3 separate regions of the Homo sapiens genome follow, and regions 1 and 2 are each linked to region 3. The links are contacts of gene promoters, found by promoter capture Hi-C in blood cells and fetal thymus (Javierre and others, 2016). All regions are on one chromosome and are shown on one strand. Each heading gives the region's core, a stretch centred on a gene start or on the middle of the fragment in contact. The rest is flanking DNA. Distances are from core to core; before and after follow the strand shown.

The links. Contacts are between HindIII fragments. The CHiCAGO score rates a contact against its expected background, and 5 or more counts as called.
Region 1: a contact is called between a fragment that was not itself captured here and the fragment with the promoter of PDZK1 in region 3, in 2 of 17 cell types (M2 macrophages and erythroblasts). The highest score is 7.1, in M2 macrophages.
Region 2: a fragment that was not itself captured here is called in contact with the fragment with the promoter of PDZK1 in region 3 in 1 of 17 cell types (erythroblasts); the score reaches 5.9 in erythroblasts.

What each region holds. Positions count from the first base shown.
Region 1 is chr1:145,803,992-145,807,062 of GRCh38, reverse strand. The region is part of intron 1 of RNF115 (ring finger protein 115); the gene reads left to right. Among named protein-coding and RNA genes, the nearest start is that of RNF115, 19 kb to the left of the region's middle. RefSeq lists an enhancer at 1,571-2,079. The HindIII fragment of the contact is 2,887 bases long and covers 336-3,071 here.
Region 2 is chr1:145,786,907-145,790,361 of GRCh38, reverse strand. RNF115 (ring finger protein 115) reads left to right here. Exons shown (of 9, transcript NM_014455.4): 2 at 1,396-1,454. Among named protein-coding and RNA genes, the nearest start is that of RNF115, 35 kb to the left of the region's middle. The HindIII fragment of the contact is 5,543 bases long and covers 1-3,455 here.
Region 3 is chr1:145,705,359-145,708,784 of GRCh38, reverse strand. It overlaps PDZK1 (PDZ domain containing 1), which reads left to right and starts at 1,417. Exons shown (of 9, transcript NM_001201325.2): 1 at 1,417-1,468. RefSeq lists an enhancer at 1,170-2,369. The HindIII fragment of the contact is 4,747 bases long and covers 1-3,426 here.

The sequences.
Region 1 (3,071 bases), core at 530-3,029, 98 kb before region 3:
GGAGCTGTTCTAGGTACTTGGGCTGTTGTCTTAGTCCATTTTGTGTTGCTTATAAAGGAATAACTGAAGCTGGGTAACTTAAAAGAGGTTTACGGCTGGGCGCAGTGGCGCGTACCTGTAATCCCAGCTGCTCAGGAGGCTGAGGCAGGAGAATTCTTGAACCCAGGAGGTGGAGGTTGCAGTGAGCCGAGATCCTGCCACTGCACTCCAGCCTGGGCGACAGAAAAAGACTCTGTCTCAACAAAAAATAAACAAAAGAAGTTTACTTAGCTCATTACTCTGCAGACAGTACAAGAAGCTTCGCACCAGCATCTGCTTCTGGTGGGACCTCAGGAAGCTTCCAGTCATAGTGGAAGGCCAAGGGGAAGCAGGTGTTCCGCAAGGCAAGAGAGAAAGGGGAGGGGTACCACACTCTTTTAAACAACCACATCACTCATTCCTGTAAGGACTGCACCAAGACATTCATGAGGGATCTGCGTCCATGACCTAAATACCTCCCACTAGGCCCTACCTCCAACATTGGGGATCAAATTTCAACATGAGATTTAGAGGGGACACATATCCAAACTATATCAGCTATATTCAGGAAGAAGTACGGAGATTAATAAAATGTTGAGAAAAATGGGTAGTAAAATCAGGATTTAAATATTTTCTTCTCCTTTTGGCTTTCTTTAAATTTAATATTTATTTATTTATTTATCTATTTTATTTTTTTGAGATGGAGTCTTCCTCTGTTGCCCAGGCTGGAGTGCAGTGGCACGATCTCAGCTCACTGAAACCTCTGCCTCCCGGGTTCAAGCGATTCTCCTGCTTCAGCTTCCTGAGCAGCTGGGATTACAGGTGTGGGCCACAATGCCCAGCTAATTTTTGTATTTTTAGTAGAGACGGGGTTTCACCCTGTTGGCCAGGCTGGTCTTGAACACCTGACCTCAAGTGATCCACCCGCCTCAGCTTCCCAAAGTGCTGGGATTATAGTCGTGAGCCACTGTGCCTGGACTTAAATTTAATATCTCATTTAAACATTAAATTAATGTAGCTATCTCTGGATTAGAGCAAATGCCTTTTTGCCCATTTCAGGTCTGAGATATTGTTGTTGTAAGAACTAACAACTAGCCCTCATTTTGCAACTGTTGTCAGCCCTTTTTATAGCTGATTTTATTTATTTTAATTAATTATATATAAATTGTATTCTAGTACTGTGGGAAAAAATGTTTTATTTTAGCTGTTAAATTATTGAACCTTTCAGGGTCTTCATTTTCCTTGTCTGTAAAATGAGATAGTTGTGTTTATTCCTGCTAGCTACGGTTTAGTGATTTGAGCTCTGGGGTATTTTTGGATTTTGTGTAAGGGAATTTTCTTCTGTAGTTTTTCCACATAGATCATGTGGTAGCCACTGACATACTAGGATTTAAATTTTACCCCTGAAATAATCTCCTTTATGAGTTACAAACTATTAGTGCATATTTTATCTTATAATGATGAACAGTCTTGAAAATGTTAGGATGGAGGACATAATGCAAAGCAATGTCAAAATTTTCCTTTTATAAATCAAACAAAGCAATAATGCTGGTAATGTTGACTGAATAAATTAAAACTTCATTTTTTTTTTTTTTGAAGACTTGGGATTCAGTAACAGGTAAACTTGGCCTGGATAATTTTTTTTTTAGAACTATTTTATAAATATTCTTTGTTTGCTTTGAGGTTGCATTTACATTGCTTTTGTTTTTAAAGTTGTATTCAGTTAATTAATTGTTTTCTTAATCCAATGGTCAGTGGCTACTGTTAACAACCAGTTTGTATGTGATCTTTCCTGACTTGAATGTTCCTGCTGTGAGTTGAATTAGATCATACTTGTGAAATTCTCCTATGTCATTGATGGCAAGTCAATGCTAGAATTCCAAGTATTACTTTTATTTCGATGAAGAGTTCTCAGTCAGAAGCTCTGATTGCTCTGTGGGTACATGGTAAAATAGTACTTTTTAAAATGAAATGGTGATGGTAGATGGTTTTTTTTTTAATATTTATACTTGGCAAAATAAAAAAGCTGGCAATCCTTGCAGGTTTCCAATTTTTTAATTTGAAAATTGAACTGCTTTATGGGAACCAAAAGTATGGAAATCAGTAGTCTAGATCAGTGTTTCTCAAACTGTGTGCCAGGAGATTTAATAGGAGTTCAGAATTATGGTAAAATATTGCATACCAAATTGTTGCCCTATCTCCATCCCTCCACTTCCCCTTTTATGACATGGAATGGCATATTAATGGTTCTGAAAAATCATTCATTAAAGCAGCATGTTTGATATTTAGTTCAGGCTTTTCTAAATCTAGTTTTTCTCCCCACCTTAACCACTGGTTAATATCCTGTGAAACGTGGTTTGAGAAATATTCCATATCCAAATCACTCAGAATAATTTATTAGAACCTACAGTTTGTTGAGAATTTAGTATATTCCCGGTACTATCTCATTTAGATGAAGTGAGCTACCCAGTGTCACACAACTGGTTGGTTATTCTGTGTTTCCAGTCTGATTGTGTGTGTGTGTGTGTGTGTGTGTGTGTGTGTGCATGCATGCATGCATTTAAGGTGGACAACATGATGTTTTGAAGTGCACATACATAGTTGAAATGATTACCAGTCCAGCTTTGTTTTGCTTCACATTCATTACTCTAACCACTTAGGCTGTTCTGAAGCATTGCTTAGTTCTCATTTCGAGGCTAAGTACCTAAGACTAGGATATTCAGAAGTTCATTTTATATGCCTTTTGACTTCCCTAACTACTAGAATATGGTTAAGGGAAGTATGATTTTATCAGAGCATATACTTTGTAGGTGATTTTAGTGACTTTTAATCCCAGGTTATTTTTCTTTCTACACAATGCTTGGAATGTAGAGCTTAGAATTTTTGCTGAGTGAATGAATGTTGTCACTTTGTCAAAGAAGATTCTGTCAGCCTAAGCTAAAAGCAAGAAAGTACATTTTACTTCTAAACTATTGTGGTACACATCAGAGCTAAACATCTATACTTTTTGGCTCATTTATCATTTTATATTTATGCCACTGGGTTGTTCCCTT
Region 2 (3,455 bases), core at 129-2,628, 82 kb before region 3:
TCAAGACCAGCCTGACCAACATGGAGAAACCCCGTCTCTAATAAAAATACAAAATTAGCCAGGCGTGGTGTTGCATGCCTGTAATCCCAGCTACTCGGGAGACTGAGGCAGGAGAATCTCTTGAACCTGGGAGGCAGAGGTTGTGGTGAGCCAAGATCGCACCATTGCACTCCAGCCTGGGCAACAAGAGTGAAACTCCGTCTCTAAATAAACAAATAAATAACCTAAATTTTAAAATAAAAAAATCTTTGACACTCTACCTTTCAGCTGTCAGTGGAAACCACTTAGGTAGCTATGAAGCAATTCTGCAAATATTTTATGGAATTCTATATTTGCCAGAGTATAATAGAAAAAACTAGGCCGGGACTGGGCGTGGTGGCTCGTGCCTGTAATCCCAGCACTTTCGGAGGCCGAGGCGGGTGGATCGCCTGAGGTCAGGAGTTTGAGACCAGCCTGACCAACATGGTGAAACCCTGTCTCTACTAAAAATACAAAAATTAGCCAGGGGCTTGTAATCCCACCTACCTGGGAGGCTGAGGCAGGAGAATCACTTAAACCCAGGAGGTGGAGGTTGCAGTGAGCTGAGATCACACCATTGCACTCTAGCTCCTGGGCAAGAGAGCGAGACTCCATCTCAAAAAAAAAAAAAAAAAAAAAAAAAGAAGTCCGGGTGTGGTGGCTCACACCTGTAATCCCAGCACTTTGGGAGGCTGAGGCAGGTAGTTCAGCTGAGGTCGGGAGTTCGAGACTAGCCTGACCAACATGGAAAAACCTCGTCTCTCCTAAAAATACAAAATTAGCCAGGCGTGTTGTCGCATGCCTGTAATCCTAGCTACTTGGGAGGCTGAGGCAGGAGAATCATTTGAACCCAGGAGGTGGAGGTTGCCGTGAGCCGAGATCATGCCATTGCACTCCAGCCTGGGCAACAAAAAGAAAAACAAAAAAAAAAGAAAAAAAACTAGGCTGGGCTCAGTGGCTTATGCCTGTAATTCCAGCACTTTGGGAGGCTGAGGCAGGAAGATCACTTCAGTTCAGGAGTTTGAGATCAGCTTGGGCAACATAGCAAGACCTCATCCTCTACAAAAAATAAAAAAAATTAGGTATGTTGGCATGTGCCTGTGGTCCTAGCTACTCTGAAGGCTAAGGCAGGAGGATCTCTTGCGCCTGGGAGATGGAGGCTGCAGTGAGCCATGATCATACCACTGCAGTCCAGCCTGGGTGACAGAGTGAGACCCTGTCTCACAAAAGAAAAAAAAAAACAAAAACTACTTGAGTCAGCGAGTACATAGAACATTTCAGAGCCTCAGCTTGTATACTGCATGTTATTCTGAAACTACAGATACCACGTAGCTTTCTAATGAAAAAGTTTTATTTGTTTCTTCCTTTCTTTTATAGGAATATATATGTCCCAGATGTGAATCAGGCTTTATTGAAGAAGTGACAGATGATTCCAGGTATTGTACAAGCTCATGAATAAATCAGACATTCTATTATCAAAACTATTTTCTCTCAGCATGGACTGAGTAAGTTGAATTTGTTTTACAACTTACACTCTACAGAGAGAGCGAGAGTGAGAGAGAGAGAGTGAGTGCATGAGCTTGCACAAGAGAGGGCAGAAGAATGGGAGAGGAAAAAGAAAGAAAAATGGGAAAATTTGGAAAGTGATATCATAGCAGATGTGGTGATACGCACTGCTCCTGATTGTATGTGGCATTCCATGTACATCTGTACGCATGTCAGAGTAAATCTGGTAAGTTTTCATTTATTATCTGAGACTTGGGGCTTCTCTTAGATTATTAGTTGGTTTTTAGTGACCACTCTGCTGTCTGAAGGTAAACTGCTGTTATACCTCTTTGGCGGGTTAGGGAGTGACTTCTGACAAAGATACCTAATCAGGTAAACAGGCTGTTCTAGCCAGGAAAACCAATTGTTACTCTGCTTTGAGGAGGCCTTGAATCTCTTGTTCTTATTAAGGTTATTTGGCCAGTGTGGTGGCTCACGCCTGTAATCCCAACACTTTGGGAGGCTGAGGTGGGTGGATCACCTGAGGTCAGGAGCTCAAGACCAGCGTGGTCAACATGGTGAAACCCCGTCTCCATTAAAAACACAAAAATTAGCTGGGTATAGTGGCGGGCGCCTGTAATTCCAGTTACTTGGGAGGCTGAGGCAGGAGAATCACTTGAAACCGGGAGGTGGAGGTTGCAGTGAGCCAAGACTCCAGCCTGGGCAACAAGAGTGAAACTGTGTCTCAAAAAAAAGAAAAAAGAAAAGATTATTGCTGTCAAACTTAGGCCATCTTTCCAGGGTGATATTAATATATGGGTTTGTAATGCTTGGAATTTGTTCTTATTGGCCTTCATAAAGGTATACAGCTGATAAAAAGGGGAAATATTTCTGAAAGTGACTATTACATATTCCTTTTTTGTTTATGTGAACAAAACTATAAAATCTTTTTTCTTTTTTCTTTTTTTTTTGAGACAGAGTCTTGCTCTGTTGCCAGATTGGAGTGCAGTGGTTCGATCTCGGCTCACTGCAACCTCTGCCTCCCAGGTTCAAATGATTCTTGGGCCTCAGCTTGCCCAGTAGCTGGGACTACAGGTGTCTGACACTATGCCCTGCTAATTTTTGTGTATTTTTAGTAGAGATGGGGTTTTGCCGTGTTGGCCAGGCTGGTCTTGAACTCCTGACCTCAAGTGATCCGCCTGCCTTGGCCTCCCAAAGTGCTGGGATTACAGGCATGAGCCACCGTGCCCAACCTAAAATCTTTTTCTTTTTTTTTTTTTTTTTTTTGTGACGGAGTCTCACTCTTTTGCCCAGGCTGGAGTGCAAGGGCACGATCTTGGCTCACTGCAATCTCTGCCTCCCAGGTTCAAGTGATTCTCCTGCCTCAGCCTCCCAAGTAGCTGAGATTACAGGCATGCACCACCACGCTTGGCTAATTTTTGTATTCTTAGTAGAGATGGGGTTTCACCGTGTTTGCCAGGCTGGTCTTGAAGTCCTGACCTCGTGATCCGCCCATCTTGGCCTCCCAAAGTGTTGGGATTACAAGTGTGAGCCACTGCACCTGGCCTAACTTAAAATTTTAATAAATTTTAGAATAGCATTGATAGGATGGCCTCTTTTGGCTAAACAAAATGGCACATTTGTTCTTTTGGGGCTATTTGGTTAAACATTCGTCTGAAAATTGAAGAAGTACCGACTGGTCAAAAAGAATCTGTAATCTGAAGCCTCTTAATCTTGGAGTGACTTTGGAGATTTTAATGGCAGTAGGTAATTCCTTTACTGTTACTGTTGGCAGAATCTAAAGTTGAAGGTCCCTTCCACAACCAGGAAAAACTACACATTTTACAGTATGTACTATTAGTTTTACTTTACTAATGATTGGTGATTATATGTGTAAATAAGCTGGAGCTTCTGGGGCAATATGTGGCATGGGATCTATTTTGATACAGTTA
Region 3 (3,426 bases), core at 168-2,667:
CTCTGCCTCTCAATCAAGTGATCCTCCCACCTCAGCCTCCAGAGTAGCTGGGACTACAGGCATGCACCACCATGCCTGGCTTTTTGTACCTTTTGTAGAGACAAGGTTTTGCCATGTGGCCCAGGCTGGTTTCGAACTCTTGAGCTCAGGCAATCTGCCCGCTTTGGCCTCACAAATTGCTGGGATTGCGATGAACTCAGGTGTTCTGATCCTAAATCCAGATTTTCCCATTCTACCTTCTGCTTTGAAAGATATAGAGGAGGCCAGGAGGGCTTAGCCCCGAGGTGGAGGAAGATAAGCTGGTATGAGGAAGCTGCTCAATGTCATTTTAAACCGTTTATCCATGGGCTCAGGTCATGTCTTTGTTGGGGGCCAAGCCAAGGCCCAGCAAAGACAAATGGCTCTTCCAGTGTGGGTGGAAGAGGGGTGAGGTCACCCAGTCCTCGGCCTGTGGTTTGCTTTGCCTCAGTGCCGGGAGCAATCTCTTGCCCTGATTTGCATTGTGGGCTGAGGATTCAGGTCAGTGAGAAGGCCAGTGATAGAATTGTCTGTGTGGGTGCTGCTGATAGGGATCAGCTGCTGATCATGGCTAGGGCTAGCGGCTGAGCACACGGGCACCAGCCTACTGCTCGGGCAGCAAGGCAGCAGGATGGAGGGGTTTGTAAAAATGCCTTCCACCTACCCTGCTGGGCTTGCCCGAGAGGCTCTGAGTGTGTGAAGGGGAAGACAATTATCGCTAGGCTGGAGAATAGAAAGAGCACCATCAGGTGAGAAAGAGAAGAAAAAAAGAGAGGGGAGAGAGTGGATAAGAAGAAGGAAGCCTGGGACACAAGAACAAGGGCTTTGCTTGCTCTAGGGCTTTGCTTGCTAAACTCCTAGGGAGCACACAAGTGAGAATCCAGGGCAGAGGGAAGCAGGATGGGTGCCCTGAGTGCTTGGCCCCATTTCCTGGGGCTTACTGGCCTCGTGGGTGGGAGTTTTATAGGCTACTGCTCCTTGGGGAGGCCTCAGTGATTGAGGATACTCCTGTATGAGCCTCGGCCCTGACCCCAGGATGGGGGACTGGAGGATCCTAACAGGATTGGGGGTTGGTTGGGTGTAACCAAGGTATCTGCCAAAGGGAGAGTACCAAGGAAAGCGGAGGCACCTCCTCCCTGGCTGTCCTTCACCCCCTCTCCCCTCCTTGTTCTCTGGGAGTGGCTGGCGAGCAGCGGCCTCCCCGCAGGGCCAGGCAGGTGGGCCAGAGCTTTTGGTTTGCTGAGGTTTGTCAGATTTTCCAGCTCAGGGCCCAGCCAGCTGGCAGGAAGCAGGACAGAGGTCACTTGAATTCAGACCACATGTCCCTGTTAAATACATTAGCTTTTAAATCAATCTTTGTTCAAAGTCCAGTGAGTTGCAAGCTTAATGCTCACCTGCAGAGACAGAATTCCTGAGTGAACGAACAGAGCAGCTCCTCTTCCATCTCCAGGTAAGAACTGCTCGTGTCCTCCTTGAGGGTGCTGGCCACCGGGGCCTGAACTACCTTCTTTCTTTTCCTTTTCCCTTTTTCTTTTTCCAAGCCAGTAGCTGGCTGTCTAGGGCAGAGAAGAGTCCCATGGGGAGGCAGCCAGGCCCCTTTGGCGGTGGTTGGGGGTGAGAGATGATCCACGCTCTGAGATTCTTTCTGCTGGAGATGCCCCTCACCTTTGTAGGCTAGGGTCTGCTTCACAAAGAAATTGGTAAACCGACCTCAGAAAAAGCCTTCCCGGGGTTGTGTGGGGGTTTGATGTGCAGCCAAAGGGAGTGAGACAACTGACTTCACAGGTAACCAGGCGGATATGCCCGGGACCTTCCTACTGATACAGGGGCCTTGGGTAGCAGAGAAGACTCTTCTGGAAGCAGCCTTTAAAGGATGCAGCCTAACTTAGCTTGCCCACTAGATAATAAAAGCAGGCATCTTTCCTCTCTGTATCACACTGCAGCACTAAGACATGAGAAAAACCAGTGGATTTCCAGGCTGGCTGAATTTTAAAACATACATTCCCCAGGCTCTCACCTTTGGCATTTCTAAGTCTCCAGGCCTTGTGTGAATTGAAAGATCTTTATTTGAAAACTCTCCCAGAATCATTCTGATCAGTGCAGGTAGGTTTGGGAACCACTAGTAGTTTATTTCTTAAGCAGAAGACTCATGAGACTTAAGTATGACACTTACCTAAGGGTTCACTCGCTATGAAGACTCCTGGTCTGGGTTGGGTCCAGCTATGAAGATTTGGGCGTTGGCTCTGAGAAACACATTCTTCTTTATTTACTAAAATCTCTGCAATGTGTCACCAGGGCAGCTTTCAGTCTTGTATCTAGAAGGCAAGAGGGGGTAGCAGGGACTGCCTCAGGCCATGATTGTCCAGTCATCTGAAGTCTGCAGCAAATTACTCAGGGTCTTTGAATTTCTGTGTTATGATAGTAACTTGTGCTTATCTTTGACTTTTGTATGTTCTCTGCACCATAGGGTGTGAAGTTGCTGGTAATGATGTCTTATATTCATAGACCACTGGCTAGGCAGCTACTTCTCCCCCAGGGGAAAGAACATAGGACTGGAATACAAATCATCAGAGTTTTGATTCAGTTGCTAGTGACAGGCCATTAGACAAACTACTTAGCCAACTGGAGCCTCAATTTCATTATTGATCAAGTGAAGGTCTGTCATCTTTTCCCCAAGAGTGTACTGAAAATAAAATTATAAGTACAAATGTGTGGTCCTGCATGGTGGCTCATGCCTGTAATCCCAGCACTTTGGGATGCCCAAGCGGGAGGATCACTTGAGGCCAGGAGTTCGAGACCAGCCTGGGCAATGAAGTGAGACCCCCGTCTCTACAAAAAATAATAATAAATTAATCCTGCATGGTGGCATGTGTCTGTGGTGTCAGCTACTTGGGAGGCTGAAATGGAAGGGTTGCTTGAGCCCAGGGGGTCGAGGCTACAGTGAGCCGTGATTGCATCACTGCACTCCAGCCTGGGTGACAGACTGAGATCCTGTCTAAAAAACAAAAAACCATGAATATGTTAAAAACACGATGTAAGATGCCTAGATTTCAAATGTGTATATCGAAAGTCTCTGTAGAATAGTAAGAAGAAACAAATTGCAGTCACTTGGGAAACCTTGTCCTAGTCTTTTAATCTCATTGAGCCTCTGTTTGCTCACTTACAAATAAGAAGTTGAGACCAGATCATCATTAATGTCTTTTTCAGTTGGCCAAGTATAAGGTAGATCCTGGAGCCTTGAAGGGTAGCTCCTTGTCATTGGGGTATGAATTAAAATGTCACCTCCCAGGAAGGACTTTCTAAATCAGCCTCCCACCTCCATGCCACCAGTATCTCTATCATTCACAGCGTGTACCATCAGAAATCATCTCATTTGGGCTGGGTGCAGTGGCTCACATCTGTAATCCC